Linked DNA regions of Homo sapiens: all the other regions are linked to region 1. Evidence: promoter capture Hi-C in 16 types of primary human blood cells and fetal thymus (Javierre and others, 2016). All regions are on one chromosome and are shown on one strand. Each heading gives the region's core, a stretch centred on a gene start or on the middle of the fragment in contact. The rest is flanking DNA. Distances are from core to core; before and after follow the strand shown.

Region 1 (3,512 bases), core at 1,013-3,512:
GGACCATCATTCCTGATTAGAAGATAATTATGAGGATCAGGTGTGACCACAGGTGCACACCTTCAGCACAGGGTCTACGCTAGCTCCGTCCCGCCCACGTAAAGACCTGCCACTAGGTGGCAGTCCATCTCAGCTACCCCACCGCTCCTTACTCCACAGAGGCTGGCTAGGACAAAGGGTCTCAATGTCATGCTGAATTCTGAGCTTCTTAGGGGACGCACTTGAGGAAATCAACGTTAACACACAAGTTTCCACTACAGCAAGACAAAGTCAGAAGCAGCAGCCCCAGGTCACTATCCAGCTGAGTGGGTTGCCTGAGCACACGCTCTTACAAACTCTAGTCTAGTCCTACTATCTCACAATTCCCAGGAAGCCTGGCTCTTTCTCTGGCATCAGCTGGAAGCTCTGTTGGGCTTCTCACCTCTGAAATGCAGTAAGTTGTCCTGCTGTGCCTGGCAGCCGACCCACTGCCTGGCTCAACATGTCAGACAGGCTCCACCGCGACCGTGGGTGTCCTCAATTTTGGCGGTGCTGACAAGGGTAGATAGATTGCAGGGGTGAGTTTCAAGAATGGCTTCAGAAAGACAAAGAGTATGAATTATATTCCATAACCAGAAAAAGGCCTTGTGGCTGGAGAATGGAGAGTGAAGGATCACTTGTGAGAGATGAAACTGGTGAGATGGGCAGGTCATATAGAACCTGCTAGGCCAAGCAGGGAGTGTGGATTTTAGGTGCAATGGGAATTCACGGAGGGTTTTAGCCTGGATGTAGGGGATCATGATTTAATTTCATTTTAAAGATTTAAAGCATGATAAATCCAGGCAAAACCAAACTGATAGATCCAGGCAAAACCAAACAAGGTGAGTAGTCTGGGTGACAGGAGATGGGGCCTTCAGCTTGTGGGCTGAGTGACAAGGTCTTGATGGATTGGAGGTGAGGCAAAGGGAGGAATCAAAGTTAGCTGCAAGGTTTTTGACCTTCCAACTTAGAGAAGTTTAGCGCCGCGTTCTGAGAAAGTGAAGACTGTGGAAGGAATCGTTTGGGGAGGGAAGGCGAGCTGTCTAAGGGGGGGGGATGTGGAACATGCAGTGGGATGCTGGGGCCTGGAACGTAGGGGAGATGCAGGTTTGGAGTCACCGGTGCCTGTGTTGTTGGGCAAAGCCAGGGGAAAGGTCAGGTCGCCTTGGGATCTGGCCTAGCACTGAGTGCAGAGGAAGAGAAGCTTCTGAGATCGAGAGGCAGCGGCTACAGGAGGAGGAAGAAAGCAAGGCGGGGAAAACCAAAGTTCAGGAGAGCATTTGCAGGAGGGCGCTGCGGGGTAGGGTCTGAGTCGGAGCCCCGAATCGGACTCGAGTCCTGTCGCGTGGGGACGGAGCGTGCAGAGGCCCATGCGAGGGACAGACACAAAGGCCCTGGGAGCTGCAGGTCAGACCACTGGACAGCGCGGCCGCGGACCTAACGCCCCTGTAAGGGGTGCTCACGCTTGGGGGGAACTCTCCGAAAGAGAGGACCACTGAAAGCCACCCTGGCAGCAGGGGCGGAACAGACAGACGTGGGTCTGGCCGTCGCCAGAACTGCCTGCGGACCAGCCCCGCGCTGCCGGGGGGGCGGGACATGTCGGCTGTCCATCAGTGCCCGCGACCAATCCGCAGGCAGCCCCGCCCCCGCCCCTCCCGGGAGAGGGCGCGCGGAGGACCCGCCGCCGCCGGTGTGAGGCGGCCCGTCCTGGCTCCCTTGTCCGGGAAGCCCGCCCAGGTAACTGAGTTTGGCCGGGCATTCCCGGAGGACGCGCCATCCCCTCACGTCCCGTCCCGGTCGCTGCATGGGCGGTGTTCGGGACGCGGGGGCTGCGTCTGTGCGGGACCGCGGGGTAGCGGCCGCCCGTGCGAGTACGCCTGACTGACGCGCCGGCCGCCGGGCCTGCGGCCTGTGGGCGGGGCTGCCGTGCGTGACAGGGCCGCTCGTGGCCGCCGGGCTGTGTCCGGGGCCGCGTGAGAAAGCTCTGCGGGACTGAGGGCTGGGTGGGTCGACCGGGAACGGCGCGCGCTCCCGCCGCCATCGCGCCTCCGTCCCCGCCTGCGGCCTGTCTGGGGGTCGCGGGGCGCAGGCGCGGCGGGCCGACGGGCGGGGGTCCTCCCCACGGGTGCGCGGGCGCCTTTGTTCCCGGCGCCGAAGCGGGGTGGGGCCTCAGGGCAGCCCCGCCCCGCCGCGCTGAGGCCCCGCCCCGTGTCCGCCTGCAGGAGCCGCCGCCGGGTCCCGCTCGTCTGCCGCCTCAGCCTCAGCCCCAACCTCAGCCGCCGCCGTTGCGCTTGCTCCCGGGCGGTCCTGGCCTGTGCCGCCGCCGCCCCCAGCGTCGGAGCCATGGCGGGCGCCGCGTCCCCTTGCGCCAACGGCTGCGGGCCCGGCGCGCCCTCGGACGCCGAGGTGCTGCACCTCTGCCGCAGCCTCGAGGTGGGCACCGTCATGACTTTGTTCTACTCCAAGAAGTCGCAGCGACCCGAGCGGAAGACCTTCCAGGTCAAGCTGGAGACGCGCCAGATCACGTGGAGCCGGGGCGCCGACAAGATCGAGGGGGCCAGTAAGTGCGCCCACTTCCTGCCTGGGCCCGCCCCGCGCGGGGGTCGTGGGAGCCCGGCCCGACTGCTTGCACCCCGGCCGGCCGCCCCAGCGACTTGGGCAAACTTTCGGGCCCTCCCAGACTCCCTCCGGGCCCCGCCCCCGCTTCGTCTCGGGTGGTCACTGGGGGCGGGGGGCATCCGGGTCCTCGGTCACCTGACAGGACACCCCCCCTCCCCCAGCTGGGGGGAGTGTTCCAGGCGCTTTGCCCTGAGGCCTAAAAATCCTCGCGGGCTGGAGACCTGCGGTGCAGGCATCGGGCCCCCCAGACCCTGGGAGTGGTGGCGGCGTCGGCGAGGGGAGCTAAGGCAGTGGCCCCCACCCTGCACGGGAACCTGGGGCCTGACCAGACGGTCCCCGCCCACTCTTTATCCAGAAAGAGCAGTCTGTGAAACTCTCCGGGCCCCCAGGCTGGGCTCTTATTTGCAAAGGAATCTTTGGGTTCCCTAAGTAGAACTTAGGCAGATGTTGGGTAGGGCTGGTCTTGGAGCAGAGCTGGGCCTACTCATCTCCCTCTGGGGGAGAGGGAGGAAGGTGGTCTTGTTTGGTTTGGAGAAGCCTGAGAGAAGCCAGTGGCTGGAATTTTTTTTTTTTTTTTTCTGCTACTTTTGTCCCAAAGCTGGGTTTTGGAGGCCTATGTGGGTGGGCAGACACTCAATGCCAGGGCAGGGACTCCCCTTGCCCTGGGAAGCACGTTCCCAGGAGATGGGCCCCATAAAGGCCTGCCCCAGCGCCTTGGAGTCAGGTATTCTTCTCAGGAGTGCAGCTAGTTTGTGAGTCTAGCCCTTTGTCCTCTGTCCGGTGGCTTCAGGGAGCGGGAGCGGCTTCTCTTAGTTTCCTGCCTTTTCGCCTTCCCAGGCCTGAGCTTGGCTGCTTTTGCGCTGGTCTCTAGTGGG
Region 2 (3,512 bases), core at 655-3,154, 2.4 Mb before region 1:
TTTGTATTTTTACTAGAGACGGGGTTTCACCATGTTGGCCAGGCTGGTCTCGAACTCCCGACCTCAGGCGATCCACCAGCCTCGGCCTCCCAAAGTGCTGGGATTACAGGTGTGAGCCACTGCGCCCAGCCAGTGCTTTTTCATATTAATATACATAGACACAATTCTTAAATTAACATTCACTAACTTACATTTACTGGTTTCTGTGTTCTGCTGGTCCCCCTCTTAATTAACTTAACGATGGTTACTTCAGATATCTGAACAATGGACGTGTGTTGAAAGACAACACAACCTGATTTTTGCCACTGGGCTGGCTCCCAATCTGGTTTAGGTGTGTTAACAGGCTGGGCCCGTCGTCTCAAGCCTGTAATCCCAGCACTTTGGGAGGCCGAGGCAGGCGGATCACTTGAGCCAAGGAGTTCGAGACCAGCCTGGCCAACGTGGCGAAATCCCGTCTGTATTAAAAATAAAAAAAATTAGCTGGGTGTTGTGGAGCATGCCTGTAATCCCAGCTACTCGGGAGGCTGAGGCAGGTGAATTGCTTGAACCGGGGATGTGGAGGTTGCAGTGAGCCAAGATCACACCACTGCACTCCAGCCTGGGTGACAGAGCCAGACTCCGTCTTAAAAAAAACAAACAACAACAACAACAAACACTGTTAATAGAGGTTCTTGAGATAAGTTAGGAGTTTCATTTCTCGCTTACAATATCTTTTGTAACTAATTTGATTTTATCTCTCAAACTGAAGTGTTATAGACCTGGTAGAGTAGATTCAAGGCAGCTGCTCTATTCTTTTTCTTCTTTCAAAATGGTTATGGCCAGCATGGGCAACATAGTGAAATCCCTTCTCTACTAAAAATATAAAAATTAGCTGGGCGTGGTGGTGCACGCCTGTAATCTCAGCTACTTAGGAGGCTGAGGCGGGAGAATCACTTGAGTCCAGGAAGTCGAGGCTGCAGTGAGCCGAGATCGCCCCACTGCACAAAAAAAGGTTGTAGTAAAACAACTGCTCTAATTCTTACCCCCTTAGCTAGTGAAAAGATGGAAATGCGACAGGATAGAGCGCGACGAGTGCTTTTAGGGCTAAAACTGAGTGGGTCACACACATGGCCTCCTCTCCCACCCGCTCCTGGCCAGAATTTAGTCACATGAGCGCATCTAGATCGCAGCCAGACGGATGGCCACGTGGGAGTGGGAGGTGATGCCACTAAAAGAGAGGGAATGCTTGGGGAACAATCAGCAGTCTTTTCTCAGGGTTTGAGAAAACACTGTGTCTTAGTGAGAAGACACAGTCTGTGCGAGTTAGTAAAGTGAACAGAACTGAGTAGTCAGCTCCCTAGTCAAGAAATTGAACAGTCGGCAGAGTTTGAGATTTCTTAACGTAAAGGAAGCGTCAAAAGATAAAGGACCCTTCTAGCCAGGACGCAAGACTGAGGGCGAGACAGCCACGCGGAGGCGGGGCCGCCGGCGGTCGAAGGTGCGCGCCCGGCCGACGGTGCGCGCCCGGCCGACGGTGCGCGCCCGGCAATGGGGCGTGGCCAGGCAGAGAGGCGGGGCTCCACCGAGCGCGGCGCTGAAGCTGGCAGCCAGAAAGGGGCGGGGCCTGGCGGCGATAGGCTTTGGGGCGGGGCTTCCAAACCGGGCGTCCCGGCTAGAGTGAAGGGGCGTGGGCACTCATAGGCTATTGGGGGAGAGGTTAAGAAACGTAGAATTTCGCAGCCAGAATGGGTACGTCTCAGCGATCCTGAAAGCAGCCTTGACAGCCAGAGGCGAGTCAAGTGGAAAGGCTGGCCGGGCTTCGAGAAGGGAGGGGGCATCGAGGTACTTAAAGGCCTGAATCGCGCGGCGTGACGTCGGGGGCGCGGTTTCGCGGCGTCTGGGCGGACACTGCGCCGAGGGGCGGGGCTGGACGCGCGCTCCAAGATGGCGGCGAACGTGTTCCCGTTCCGCGACGCCCGTGCCGCACCGGACCCAGTGCTGGAGGCCGGCCCGGTGGCACACGGGCCACTGCCGGTACCGCTGGTGCTGGACAACGGGTCGTTCCAAGTCCGCGCTGGCTGGGCGTGTCCCGGGCAGGACCCAGGTCCCGAGCCGCGCCTGCAGTTCCGCGCGGTGTGCGCCCGCGGTCGTGGCGGGGCACGGGGCGCGTCGGGCCCGCAGGTGGGGAACGCTCTGGGCAGCCTGGAGCCACTGCGCTGGATGCTGCGCTCGCCCTTCGACCGCAACGTGCCGGTCAACCTGGAGCTTCAGGAGTTGCTGCTGGACTACAGCTTCCAGCACCTGGGTGTCTCCTCACAGGTGAAGGGCGGAGTAGGCTGGGCTGGGCTGGGTTTGAGGGGAGGGGTGCGGTCTCGTCTCCGCTCACTCTGCTCTCGGAGAGGTAACAGTCACTTCAGTAGCTCCGATTGTCTTTTAGTCGACCAGATGCTAGGCGCTGTGGGTGTAGCAGCGAATAAAATGCTGCTCCTTGTATCTTGGAGCATACCTTTGGGCATATATGCTTGTTTGTTAAGAAGCCCATTTATTAACAAATACGTATTGAGCACTTACTCTGTGTCAGGCACTTTTTAGGCATTTGGAGTACATGTGTGAACACAAAACTTCCTGTGCTTATGGAGCTGTTAATACTATGGAAAGATATTCTAGTATGAAAAGGCAGACAGTAAACATAGAAATAGTAGATTCTACGCCGTGATAGGAGAGGAGGGAGTTACATTTTTTCAGTAAGATGGTCAGGGTAGGACTCGTGAAGGTGATGTTTGAGCAAGGACTTGAAGGAGGTGATTCAGGTAGCAAGCCATGTGAATATCTGAAGGAAAAACGGTCCAGGCAGAGGGAGCAGCCAGTAAAAAGGCCCCGAGGCAGGAGTGTGCCCTAATCCTAACTGCAAGGCTGCCTGTGTGAGGGGGAGAGTAGTACCTGAAAGAGGATGTCAGAGAGGTAGTGGAGAGGCAGATCACACACCTTATAGGCTTTTACTGAGTGAAATGGGGAGCCATGGCAGGGTGTTGAGCTGAAGAAGGACCTGACTTGTGTTTTAAAAGGATCACTATTACTGCTGTATGGAGAATGAATTGTCTTGGATCATAGGGTGGAAACAGGGACGAGTTAGGAGGCTGTTGGAATAACCCAGGTAAGGGATGATGGTGGCTTAGATGAGGCAGATAGCAGGGAATGTCATTAGAAGCAGTTGGATTCTGGAAATACTTTGAAGATAGAGCCAACACGATTTGCTGACAGTTTGGATGGGACCTTGACTTAATAACTTAAATTGACTCTACTTTCGTATTTTCAAGTAAAGATGAGATGGGAGTTTTATAATCGCCTCTGATCAGGTTTTTGATTAAGAAGCCAAAAGCAAATTCAGTCCTGCAATAAGGATTTTGGGTTCTTTTATGCTTCAAAAAGAGTATTCTGTTACCACTCATTTATTTGCCCTTTTCTTTCAAAGTAGGGCTGTGTTGATCATCCCATAGTTTTGACAGAAGCTGTGTGCAACCCACTGTATTCAC
Region 3 (3,512 bases), core at 351-2,850, 2.3 Mb before region 1:
ATAGATATTCCGCATTTTGTTTATCCATTCACCAGTAGGTGAACGTTTGGATTATTTCTATTTTGGGGTAGGATGAAGAATGCTGGAAGGCAAATTTGGGTACAAGTCTTTGTGTGGATATATGTTTTCATTTCTCTTGGGTCATTACCTAGGAATAGAATTGTTGGGTCATATGGTAAATTATGTTTAACTTTTTAAGAAACTGCTGTACTGTCTTGGAAAATGGCTTCACTGTGTGAATTCTCATCCCCCATTTTACAGATGAGAAATTTGAAGCTCAGAGAGACTAAGTCACCTGCCAAGGTCTCACAGGTTTTAAGTGTCAGACTCAATCCCAGGATTCAAACCCAGATCAGTTTCTCCGAAGCCCATGTATTTAACCACCAGGCAGTCCTGTACTTCCTGCTTTTGTTTTCACTAGAAAACTAGAGAACCCTCAGTTGCTGTACTGATCTGTGTTTGTTTTGGCCTTAGGCATCCTGGTGTTTCTGCTGGCATCTTGGGCCCTTTGATTTGGGGCCCCCAAGATAAACTCTTTAGCCCCAGATATAACTTCTTTCTAGGGCCACAATAGCCCAGCCTCCCTTGAAACCATTGAATGTATGTTAAGTTGTTAGAGACTTCTGTTTTTCTCTCAGAATGTGTAGGGTTTTCTTTATGGAAATTCTCATTCAAAAAATGTTTGAGTGATTCTTCTGTACTCTAAATTTAACTCTTATTAAATTTAATGATTTTTCTCACTGTAAAAGTTTTCAAACTCTTTTTTAAGCAGTGGAAACTTTTCTTTAAATGAGATATTATGCAGAAACCCAATATGTAAAACAAAGGAAGGAGCTGTTCTGACTGGGGTCAGGTGGGTGGGGTGCTCAGTCATCCCTGCCACCTGCAACCCCCTCCCCCACCCCCAGGCACAGTGCTGGACACCTGGGCCTTGCCACCACCATCTTAAACCAGCAGCTCATCTACAGGAACTAGCTCAGACTTTCACTTTTGGTCCTTTTAAAAAGGGAAGTTTCTTTTCTTCTAATTATTAAAAAAAAAAAAACCCTGTTATTGTTACAGAAACTTTTAGAAGTACAGAAAAAAAGAAGCATTAAGAAGAAGATAAAATCACCCATATTCCCCCTGAACAGCAACAACCATTGATAATATTTTGGTATTGTTGTGTCAGGCAGCGTCCTGGGAGGAAACAAATGGTGATTTTATATGGGGTGATTTGTGGAAAGTTTGATAAAGGGGCAGTTTGTAAAGGGTTTAGGGAAGTGGTCCTCAAACTTTTTGGTCTCAGAGGCCCTTTATATTCTTAAAACCTGAGAACTCCTAAAAGCTTTGGTTTAGCTGGGTTCTATCTACCCATATTTACTGTATTCGAAATTTAAACGGAGGCATTAAATATTTATTCATTCATTAAGTCAGAATGATAAACACATTATCTGTTGGCTATCTGCTTCTGCGTAGCAGATGAACTCAAAATTTAGCAGCTTAAAACAATAAACATATACTGCCTCACACAATTTCTGTGGCTCAGGGATCCAGAGCAGCTCAGCTGGGTGGTTCTCGTTCAGGATATCTCATAAGGTTGCAGTCACTTCAGGATTTACCTGGGGCTGGAGAATCCACTTCCAAGATGGCTCACTGGCATGGCTCTTGGCAGGAGGCCTCAGTTCCCTGCCATGTGGCCCTCTCTATAGGACAGCTCGAGTGTTCTCTCAGCATGGCAGGTGGCTTTTTTCAGAGTGAGTGATCCAAGAGATAGAGGAATCCGCAATGCCTTTATGACCTTGTGTTGGAAATCATGTACCATCACTTCTACCATCTTCTATTCATGAGAAATGACTCACTAGGTCCAGCCCACACTCAAGGGGTGGGGAATTAAGCTTCATCTTTTGAAGAGAGAATTTGTGGACATGTTTTAAAACCACCACATGTTAACATAAATATTTTTATGAAAAATTATATTTTTCAAAACAAAAAAAAAAGCAATGAGGAGAGTAGCCTTGTTTTATATTTTTGCAAATCTTTTTAAGATCTGGCTTAATGGAAGACAGTTGGAGTATCTTATCTGCTTCTGCCTTCAATCTGTTGTGATATGTTATTTTGGTTGAAGTAAATAAAGAAAATCTTATGTAGTTGGAAAAGGGAGGAAATATTTTAATTGCTTTTTCAGATATTGTGGATATTCTTTGATACTACATCTAAACTCAACAAGTAGTAGTTTCTTAAAGGTTAGTTGCAGTGCTGAATCTGAAGCCATATCAATTTACATCAAAATCCATTGGTCTGTCTGGCATTTTGAATGGTTCTTTTACCCATGTGTACTTTTTTTTAATGTAATATATTGGATCTGTTAGAAAATATTGGTTCACTGAGTTACACAGATCTTCCAAATGTTGACACATTGCTTTATACAATATAAGAAAATGTATAGTTTCAATAACAATCTTGCCATACAATTATTCAGGTACTGGGAAACTGTAAGTTCGTGGTAGCTATAAAAGTTTTCTAAAATTTGGATTTTTGCTTAAAAGTTCAAATTCTATCATTGGTAACAAATGCTGTCAGTTGTGAGAAGATCCATTTGCCCTTTTTAGGAAAAAAAACACTGCCTGTTAAATACTCAAGTCTGAATAACCATTGTTTGCTAGACATCCTTTAAGTAAAACTAGTGCTCCATGAGAGAAGAGACTAGCTTAGCACACAGCTTAAAAAATGGCTCAAGTAATGCAGTTGGAGACAATGATTATTCTTTTTTTGAACTTCCCATTTTGTCACATGGAATATTAAAAGGACATGTACTCAAGGATTAAGGTTTCATAAAATTAATACATTTTATTGCTTTATCAAGGACATTTTTAAGGGAAACTGGTATTGATTTTTTTCTTTTGATTGCACATACAAAACAATGAAGATGGTGATTGCTAGTACAGCTTGGTGCCACTAAGTTAATTCTGTTAAAACAACAGTAGTTTTACCCACCATTGCTTTTACACCATCAGTGCAAATGTCAACACAGTGGAAAATGCAAGTAATTTCTTAGTGTTACTGTGAAAATTATTTTGATGTTTTAATACCCTGAAAGAGTCTAGAGACCACTTTGAGAACCACTGGTTTATGGGGGTCAACAAGGAATGGGACAATACCCTGGGATAGCAAAAGTTGGGAGATCTTACCCACCCCACCCCACCCCCTGGGCCTGAAGGAGACAAGGAAATGAACCTACTGGAACCTAAGGAAGGCACCGTATGGAGAGGGCTACCTAAAGGAGCAGTGGCTGCCACTCCATGCCCCTGCCATTCTGGTGCTTTCGGTGACAAACCTAACCAGAAAGCAGAATGCAAGGAAGCCTTTGATGTAGTGCAAGTCAACTGGCTTCCTCAGGCACGGAGAGGGGAAGATCTAGAGGGACAGATGGGGCAGAGAGTGAGCCCAGCTGTCTTCAGCCCTTCGGATCTACACACAAACAAGGAGTGAGTTTGTGTACATTTAAAAAACAACTTTTAGGGCCAAATGTG

Evidence for each region. The method cuts DNA at HindIII sites, captures the fragments that hold promoters and counts their contacts. A CHiCAGO score of 5 or more calls a contact.
Region 2: a contact is called between the fragment with the promoter of ACTR5 here and the fragment with the promoter of PLCG1 in region 1, in 1 of 17 cell types (endothelial precursors). The highest score is 5.9, in endothelial precursors.
Region 3: a fragment that was not itself captured here is called in contact with the fragment with the promoter of PLCG1 in region 1 in 1 of 17 cell types (fetal thymus); the score reaches 5.6 in fetal thymus.

What each region holds. Positions count from the first base shown.
Region 1 is chr20:41,135,281-41,138,792 of GRCh38, forward strand. PLCG1 (phospholipase C gamma 1) reads left to right here and starts at 2,263. Exons shown (of 32, transcript NM_002660.3): 1 at 2,263-2,578. The coding sequence starts at 2,362. It overlaps LOC124904903 (translation initiation factor IF-2-like), which reads right to left and starts at 2,233. Exons shown (of 2, transcript XM_047440629.1): 1 at 422-2,233; 2 at 1-12. The coding sequence starts at 2,059. The coding sequence ends at 1,478. It overlaps PLCG1-AS1 (PLCG1 antisense RNA 1), which reads right to left and starts at 2,720. Exons shown (of 7, transcript NR_109889.1): 1 at 2,434-2,720; 2 at 422-531; 3 at 1-12. RefSeq lists enhancers at 778-1,562, 2,347-3,131, 3,053-3,152, 3,301-3,380 and silencers at 1,533-2,522, 2,643-2,902. The HindIII fragment of the contact is 8,103 bases long and covers 1,221-3,512 here.
Region 2 is chr20:38,746,556-38,750,067 of GRCh38, forward strand. ACTR5 (actin related protein 5) reads left to right here and starts at 1,905. Exons shown (of 9, transcript NM_024855.4): 1 at 1,905-2,298; 2 at 3,455-3,512. The coding sequence starts at 1,924. RefSeq lists silencers at 1,381-1,650, 1,951-2,140 and an enhancer at 1,501-2,002. The HindIII fragment of the contact is 9,906 bases long and covers 1-3,512 here.
Region 3 is chr20:38,841,799-38,845,310 of GRCh38, forward strand. All of the region lies in intron 2 of PPP1R16B (protein phosphatase 1 regulatory subunit 16B), which reads left to right. Among named protein-coding and RNA genes, the nearest start is that of PPP1R16B, 38 kb to the left of the region's middle. RefSeq lists an enhancer at 965-1,074. The HindIII fragment of the contact is 550 bases long and covers 1,326-1,875 here.